Regions from separate parts of the Homo sapiens genome. Here region 1 is linked to region 2. The links are contacts of gene promoters, found by promoter capture Hi-C in human tissues and cell types (Jung and others, 2019). All regions are on one chromosome and are shown on one strand. Each heading gives the region's core, a stretch centred on a gene start or on the middle of the fragment in contact. The rest is flanking DNA. Distances are from core to core; before and after follow the strand shown.

Region 1 (4,720 bases), core at 34-2,533, 1.6 Mb before region 2:
TAAGACCTATCTCATAGGGCAGTTGTCAAAAAAGAATTGAATAAAAGTGTGTGTATGTGTGTGTGTGCCTGTATGTGTGTATGTATGTGTATATGTGTGTGTGTATATATGTGTGTGTGTGTGTGTGTGTGTGTGTGTATGTATGTATGTATGTATATACTTGCACAGACCAGGACCCGGTATAGAGTAGGCATTGAATAACTATTAGCTATTTTTGGAAATTACATTGAAATGGTGTCTCATCATCACAAGCAAAATTTCCTCAAGACTCAAAAATATGTGTTGAACACTCTTGGAGGCAATAGAATAGAGCATTGAACAAAACAAATACTCTTGTCCTCGCAGAACTTATAATTTGGCAACAGAGTACATGTTAGTGGAATTGTACATTTTCTCAATTTCTGCAAACTTTTAGTATCTTTGTAAAATGAACTGTGGCACATATTAAAACTAGTCAATTAGATCAGCTTTGTGAAACCAAATCAATCATTCTTCCAAACCATATAGTATTTGTTTGTACTCATTGATACTTAAAACTTATTGATACTTATTAGACCTTAATATTTCTCTTTAAGAGATATCAATGAAATAGTTTCATCCCTTGAGTTTCTCTCGATATAACCCTCTGATTGTGGAAATAATAGAATGTTAAAGATATGAAAGCTAAAAAATACCTTATCAATAAATTATTCACTTTATTTTTCAGTTGAGAAACTGAAGCCTAGAGCAAGGACATAGAGTTAGCATGTCTAAAACACATTCTTTAAGTGGTGTTCATTTTGTTAGGGGAAAAAACTACCTCTTGGATCTTAAATGCCACATAATTGGTGAAAAATGTACTGATTTGAATAATTGCTGTTTTTGCTAACAGCTGGATTCCAATGGGGAATTACTAATCCGAAATGCGCAGCTGAAACATGCTGGAAGATACACATGCACTGCCCAGACAATTGTGGACAATTCTTCAGCTTCAGCTGACCTTGTAGTGAGAGGTAAGAGTTTCAACATTTTAAAATTACAAAACCAAAAGTATTTGACTTGCATAAACATGTATAATCTTCTGGTAACTCTGGTGCAAATTCTTACATATTTAGAGTCTCAATCCCATGCTTAAGAATGGATCTTAAGCTTCTTCCCATGCCTAAGAATGATCTATGCCAGACAAGTAGTAAACAACACTGATTTTGTTTGTTTTACTAACTACGTATCTTCTAGAAAGTTACACCACATATCTCCTACTAAATGTTTGTGCTTTGTAGACTTACCAAAAGTTCTCGTTTCCTGCTAATACTTTTTAGTGTGTTGTGTATAGTGCTGTTTCCTTTTTTATTTCTATGGAAAAGATATATACTGATGCTGTTTACTATAACCTCAACTGTTATATATTTATCACTTTTGTCTTAGAGTGTAAAGTTAATTTATACATGTATCATGTTTTTATTTGTTGCTGGTTTTTTCAAATTAGTGTTTTCGTTCTTATGAATAATATAATTGAGATTGTGATGGAATATACATTTATTAAAAATGCAACCCCTTTGCTACTGGCCGCTGCCATAGCAGTGAGGCTGGCTGGGAACACAGCACACCTTGTTTAAAATAAAGAGCTGGCTCTTCACTGACTGCCCTTTAGTTTTGCACCCAAGAAGTACCATGTGTTGACCCCAGCTTGCTTACCTTTAATATCTCACTTCATGTAACCAACTCCAACCATCTAACTAATCCACAAAAATACACTTTAACTTCCATGTCAGTTGCTTTATTCACAGTATTCCTTCCATGTCTTTTTCTCATGATTTGTTGACCAAATCTTATTCATCCTTCAAGTCTTAAAGTATATACTAAGTTCATGAATCCTTCTCTTGATGTCCCCAATATGAGCTCCGATCTTCTGAATTTTCATAACATATATTGCTTTCTCTCATATGTTTTATAGCAGTTGGTACACAGTTATCTACTCTCCTAAGTTGTAAAATTCATATATGTTTTTTTTTTAGTGAATGGCAGAGTTCCTTTGCATTGTTTCGTAGCTCTCTCTTTCTGTCTCAGTGTCAGTTAAAATTACTATTTTTTCACATTTCACCTACTAAAAATATTTATTGAACATTAATTGTACATTTTGCCTTTACTTTTCACACTATCAGATAAATTGGCAATAAAATGATATTTGTGGCTTGTTTATTTTAATTCTCCTTCCACATCTGGGTCAATATAATTTTACTCAATCTCATGCAGCTCCTGCATTTCCCTCTAGAGCAATGTTAATATGGGGTCCCTAAGCAACACTGGGCAAATGCTGAAAACTCTTCTACTCCATTTGAATATATTCTCCAATAGAGTTTTAAGAAGTCTAGTTGAAGTTTCTTCATCTGAATGAACTTGGAAATACATTCCACAAACCACTTATTGAATAATAACAAATAAAAATGAGACTACAAAATCCTAAGTCAAACAAAATTCATTTAGGTTCAGTATTTTCATTTATTTTGTTATCTGGGACATTGATTGTTTTCAAGAATTATTAGGGAGAGGGATTAGAGGGATTAGTTCACCATTCTTCCTAGTCAGACCACTAGCTGTTAAGTCATTTCCAGAAGTAGCCAAAGTGTATATTTAATTGAAATTGCTTGCATATGAAAATAATTAGCATTAATATTGCAATAGGAGTTATGTTACAGTGTGTGGACATAAATGTCTTCATATGATTACATTGTAGTAAACTCATAGTACTATTACCATAGAATACTCTGTAATATTCAGAGTGAAGAGGAATTTTACAGATGAAATGCAAGGGTAGTCATGATACTAGCCACACATACTTAGGTAATTAATTATCACCACTATATGTATTTTTATAGAGAATCAATAAAAAGAAGCTATAGCCAATATTATGTAGAAATAAAAACGTATACAGCATTTTAAGTCCTTGCACTATAGTAGGATGCTAATAAAACCATACAGGTACATGAAAATACTGCTTACCTCTGTTAAAGTCAGCAGAGTCATAACCATTCTTCAAACTTTATTTCTAATAATAGAAAAAGTATCCATTTCATATCAAAAGAAATTTGCAATTAAAATAGTCAAATATATTTGACTATTGCAGAACTTGTGTCAAAAACATGTATAGATGTTCTAATATGCTTTATATATTTAAACCAGAAGGTAGACAATTAAACAGTTGTTTTTATTTTTTAATAATAATGGTGAGCAATGTATAAGACATGCCCTGCCTTAAGTGATATTATTATTGGTCTATTTATTCATTTAATTATACTTTTGTATCTAGTTCAGGAAATCATAACCTGGAGTCTATGAACAGGCTTTAAGGGATCCATGGACCACCAGAAATTGTACATAAAATTCTACGTGTATGTACATTTTCCTGGGAAAATGATTTGTAATTTTCATAAGATTTTCGTAGCCAGCAATGTCCCACAAGGCATTAAAAAGCTAATCTATTTTTTATTTCCCCATCTAGATCAAGACTCTCTAATAAAATAAATTGAAGAGATGATTATTCACTTTATGCAAAAGAATAAAATACTAATACATTTCATGTAGTTAAATCTAATAGCACATTTAGATTGTGAATTGCTTTTAAAAGATTCGATTTGCACTCAACCCTTCAAAATTACATGTTTGTAAAAAATATTAAATATGTTATGTAGTAGACAGTAGAAATCTATAAGAACTTTCCATATTTGAGATGGACTAATTTTAATCCATATTCAGATATTGGTAATCTGAACTGCAGCTGCTGAAATTAGTGGTGCAATGAGAAGGACAGTAAACACAGTAGAGGGGAAAGCAATTTCATCTGAGGATCGCTAAAAAATTTTTTATAACAAAATTATTTCTGTGTATAAATGATTATGCCTTATCAGAGAAGACTGAAACAAAAGTATAAATATTTAGACATAATTAAGATTGTGGATTTCTTTTAGCCTACATCACACTGAAGGAAATGAATACATAGTAAGAACAGTGTTGCTGCCCTAATCAACATGTGTGTGTGCGTGTGTGTGCATGTGTGCACGCATTTGTAATTGTGGGTGGAAAAGGGTGAGTATATGCATACAGCATGATGAAAGCAATTTCTATCAGAAAAGAAGTGTGTTTTAATTTATTCCTTGCCTTTTTATTGTATATTGAGCTTAGAATGTAAGCAGTCAAGTAGTTAAATCTGAATGCCTCTAAATATAAAACTAAAATTAAATGTAGGAAAAATATAGTCAATGGAAAATGTAGCATTGGATCTGATTTCATGGGGCCTTTTACTGAGAGAAAACACTCCCGCTGTGAGTTTTTTGTGTCATGTATGGTAGGATTTAGAAATGAAGAAAGCAGTGGCAATTGTCGCCAAAGAAAAACAATCTGTAGAAAATGTCCCCGATAATAAGATATGAACTATTGTAATTCTGTAAAAGCATAAATGTGTACTTATAGAAAGCTATAGCACTTTAATTTATTTACCATATAACTGGGTCCAAAGATGCTTGAGGAAAAGAGGCCAGTAAAGTTGCATGCATTGTCTAATCCTCCAGCTCTGCAAACAACTTCAAATCATGAGATTGTATTGACCATGTAATTTTCACTTTTCTTTTCCAAAGTTGGCTTTTATATGAGTTATATCTGTTAACTTTGGCAACATTTCTGTTAGTCTTTCTATAGTATAGAGATTATTTTTGCAAGAGTAACATTTCTTCAAATGCTGTTGTCC
Region 2 (4,295 bases), core at 1,086-3,585:
GACTTATTAAACTTGGAGATTTTCAAGTTCATCAGCAAGTGTGCAAACCCTTAACTGTGGGTAACATCCATTTATTTGTAGCACCTTTCGGTTTTAATATGTAGAGCACATGCATTGTTAACCTCTAAATCCTTTGTATAAACATTTCTGGAAGAGCTGGTAAAATATCTCCTTCTGTGTTTCCTGACTCGCCAGTTGATGGCATTTAGAAACCCTCTGGTACCAGCAGGTGCTGTATTTTGCTTTCTTCAGGCTCCAGCTGGGCTACAATGACAGATTCCTGTCCCAGGCCAAGCCTAGCCACCAAGGCTAGGACCACATTGGAGGCAAACTGAACCAGGCTCCACCAGACAGCAAGATGAATGGCTGCTGTTTAAGTTTAAAATCCCCTGGTGGGAGTAAATATTGTTCCAGAGAAAAGCCTTGACAAATACTGCGTCATCCTTACAGAACTGTCTTGATTAAAGCAGAATCTTTGGATTAAGTTGATGCTCAATTCAAAATGTATCTATCTTGCTGTCATGGGATTTTTTTTTGTTTTTTTTTTCCTTTCTAGAGTCTGAAAACAGACATAATGTTGGGGACGGTCAAACAAGGCTGCCGGCTCCCAAGGGGCTAGAGTCCACTCCTGATAATAGAAGGCGGCTGAACACTGACACTTCACTGAGGATAATGGAGACAGCAAAGGCTTAGTGGGAAAGGGCCAGTTGTCACCTAAGTGACAGGCAACAGCTGAGCTCACACATCTGGAGCCGGACTACGGCAAACATTAGCAACCCTCACCAGTCTACACCTTGGGCCTGTCTGAAAAGACAGATGGAAGTTCCCTCTACTCCTAAAGTACATTAAAAAATGTCTGATGGTGAACCACATCAATTATATAACATCAACTGCAGGCACAGCCTTCCAAAGTACTGATTAAGACGAGGCAGTAGACAACACTGTATGCATGAACAGATACAAGATACCATTTCAGTGATTTGTCATTCATAAAACTTATCCTAAAAGACACATATACATGCATCCATTTGATAGCACAAATGCATGTTAACTCTGCAGGAGAGGCAGATTTTTACATGTTTTTTTGGTTGTAGTTGTTGGTGCTTTTTTTTTTTCCTTTAGGCTGGTTCCCGTGGTGTGTTTGCCTTGTTCATGGTCTCAGTTCTGCCGCTGATACCCTTTTAAAAATCAGCAACCAAACGCGTTCGGCTTGTGATCCTGAACCCTCCTTAGGCAAGCTGGAACTAAGCGTGATGCAGCCGTCCTCCCTCTCTCCCAACCCCCAACCTCGTTCTTCAGCCTCCTGAAGACAATCTGTGAACAATTTTCCCAAAGTCCCAAGAATAACACAGCACTGCCAATAGTCACTGGCGATGCCGTTTGTTTTTCTTAGAGGGTAATGAAAATTTAACAGCTTTCTGCTGCATCCTGAGTCCCGCTCCTAATAACTATTAACATGCCTAGTTTCTTCAACTTTTTCTACCTCAAGAGAGGAAGACGCTCCCATTTTTTCCCTATATCTGTGCTACATTCAGCAAACACCATCGCGGGGCAGGGGGTTGGGGAGAGTGGTGGGAGTTGATTCGCCTCTGCCAAAAAGCCACCAGCCCCTTTCCCCAGCGCTAGAGGAGAGAATCGGTACCCTCCCTCCGGACGCCAGTAGGTGACAGGCGATCCTAAGCGGCGGGAACACGCCAACGCACCCTCGCCTCCCGGCGCCCCGCATCGCCTCGACCCTCGGGCTACAGAACCTGTTTCCACGCCGGAGAAAACCAAGGGAAGAGTTGGTTGTGATGCAGCAAACAGGAGCCATGCGGAGAGCCTCTGCGGAGCCCTGGCGATGCTGCAGCCAATATCTGCTTTCCCTGTCTACACAGCCCAACAAACCGATTATGACCTTCTCCCTGATCTTCTGCGACACCGACCCAGTCTGGGTGTCACAGACTCCGGCGGTGCCAGCGAAGGTGCCCGGCCCTACCCCTGCGGCGCTCGCCCCCCACCACCGCGCCGCAGCCCCCTCTGCGGAATCCGCCGGGATCCAGGCTGCCACTCACCTCGCGCGAGGGAGACGCAACTCGGCTGCACTGTCCTCGGCGCCGCTGCGGGGCTGCTGGGCTGCGGGGCTGCGGGGCTGAGGAGCTGCGGTCCGCGGCGTCAGGGGTGGGCGAGGGTGAGCAGCGCACGAACCATCCAGAGCCCAGAAAGTCTCCGTGCCGACCGCGGCGCGTCTCGGGGAAGTCAGCGCAGGCTGCGCGAGGCTGGCATGTTCCGGGCGCGCTGTCGGGCGGCGGCGGCCGCGGGAGACGGCGCTGGCAGCTGGGCTGCAGGCGGAGTGCGCTCGGGCTCCGGAGCCGCGCGCTGCGGCGCCGCCGCGCACCCCGCCCTCGGCCGCGGGGCCCGGCGCGAGCGAAAACGCGGAGCGCGGACGCCGCCGCGGGATCGAGGCCGCTGGGCGCGCGCCCACGCGTACCCCGGCTCGGCCCTGAAAGCGAGGTCGGGCCCGGCTCGGGCCGCGCCCGGGGGCAGGGCTGCGAGCAGGCCTGGGACCGGCTCCACGCGCAGCCAGTGGGGCAGAGCAGCAGGCGGATTATGCGCAGGGAGAAAAAAGTTCACCAACCGCGGTCCAGAGTCGCAAGTGCGGCTCGCTCGGAGCCTCTGCCCCGCCCCCGATTATAAGCCTTTTTTTTTTTTTTTTTTTAACCAACAATCCCGATGGACTGAAACACAGGAAGAGTGAAGGGACGGGGTGGGGGGTGGGGGAGAGACAAACCCAATTTCCTCTGATCAAACGATTTGGGTAGGGGTGCCTATTTGAGTTCCTTCTCCTTCGGGGGGTGTGTGAAGGGGGCAGTTAATTAAACACTTAGATTCCTTCCGGCGCGCCTTGCCGAGCTGGGGACCCGTTTGGACTCGATCCTGTCTCGTGTAATCCCACAGGCTGGTCTGAGTCTCTGCCCCGGAACCGGAGGAGTGATCTTTCAGAGCAAGAAGCCAAAGTTCAGCCTCTAGTCCGTTCCCTTCCCCGCCTCGACGGCCCTGGTCGTCTCCATGAAAACTCAGTGTGGGGGATCGTGCCCGCGAAAACCTCAGCCCACCGCAATGTCCAGAGCCTGACCCAAGTGAACGTGGCGCACTTAAAAGCGGGTTCAAAGCATTGATCCGAACACGGTGACAATTTTTCACTGGCCAAACTACTCTCCACATTTTCAGTCTGCTCAATTCCCAGAGCTGGGCTCTCAGGCGCACTCACCCACGTTGAACTGGGGCTCAGCCTGTTTGAAAGTTCTGCCCTGACATTTGTGTCACACTAAACCTTAGAACCCCCCACCCTCTCCAGTTCCGGATCGGTGGAGTCTCACCGTGTGGGTACTATTTCCCTGGACTGCAGAGGGCAGACACAGGCGGCAGCTGTTAACCCGAACTTGACAGGTGCCTCTGCAAAGCCAGGGCTTCCTTGACCTCTCCATCCTCTCCACAACGCTCTAGGATACTGTATCATCTTCCAGGAAGATGAGGATGTGTGTGGGGGGAGTGTGGAGGGAGGTGTTGACTGATGCAATTTTTATCCTTTTAAGAAAAATCAAAACTGCCAGTCTCAGAATTTCTCAGAACATCAAGTCTTTTCGATTTTCGTTGGGAATAAAGCAAAGGAATACTCAGCAAAAATGGAGCCGATGAAAAGAGAATGCAAGGAAATAAAGGCAAATGGAGGAGGAAACTGTCTAAATCCAGGAAAATGTATGGCTTCAGCACTGTGCTCTATAATTCTGACTCAGATCTCCCCACGCTGTAGATACTTTCTCCTGTCTAGATGCCCAGGCAGAGTTCCTGAGCTCAGATCACTCAGGAAACAAGGCTGTTGCTTTTGAAATAATTCCACTTGCTAGCGTTGTTTTTTTTTTTTTTTTTTTTTTTTTTTTTTTTTGAGACGGAGTTTCGCTCTTGTCACACAGGCTGGAGTGCAGTGGCGCGATCTCCGCTCACTGCAACCTCCGCCCCGCCCCCGTGTTGAAGCGATTCTCCTTCCTCAACCTCCCGAGTAGCTGGGATTACAGGCACCTGCCACCGCGCCCAGGTAATTTTTGTATTTTTAGTAGAGACAGTTTCCCCATGTTGGCCAGGCTGGTCTCGAACTCCTGACCTCAGGTGACGAGAATCTGGGAAAGAACAAACCAGGTTTTCTTGCCCCTCAGCATTTTATTGGAATTGGCCTTTGAAGTTGTGTCTGTTTATCTTGCTGGGGTTACAAATGCTTCTATTAAGCTATCAACTTTTAGGTTCTATCTAACCTCCAG

The links. Contacts are between HindIII fragments. The study calls those that stand out against the background at their distance.
Region 1: a contact is called between a fragment that was not itself captured here and the fragment with the promoter of PRICKLE1 in region 2, in 1 of the 25 tissues and cell types used here (mesenchymal stem cells).

Annotation. Positions count from the first base shown.
Region 1 is chr12:40,958,243-40,962,962 of GRCh38, forward strand. CNTN1 (contactin 1) reads left to right here. Exons shown (of 24, transcript NM_001843.4): 15 at 872-992. Among named protein-coding and RNA genes, the nearest start is that of PDZRN4, 230 kb to the right of the region's middle. The HindIII fragment of the contact is 4,788 bases long and covers 1-3,677 here.
Region 2 is chr12:42,587,411-42,591,705 of GRCh38, forward strand. It overlaps PRICKLE1 (prickle planar cell polarity protein 1), which reads right to left and starts at 2,336. Exons shown (of 8, transcript NM_153026.3): 1 at 2,055-2,336. RefSeq lists a silencer at 2,340-2,589 and an enhancer at 3,059-3,616. The HindIII fragment of the contact is 9,160 bases long and covers 1-4,295 here.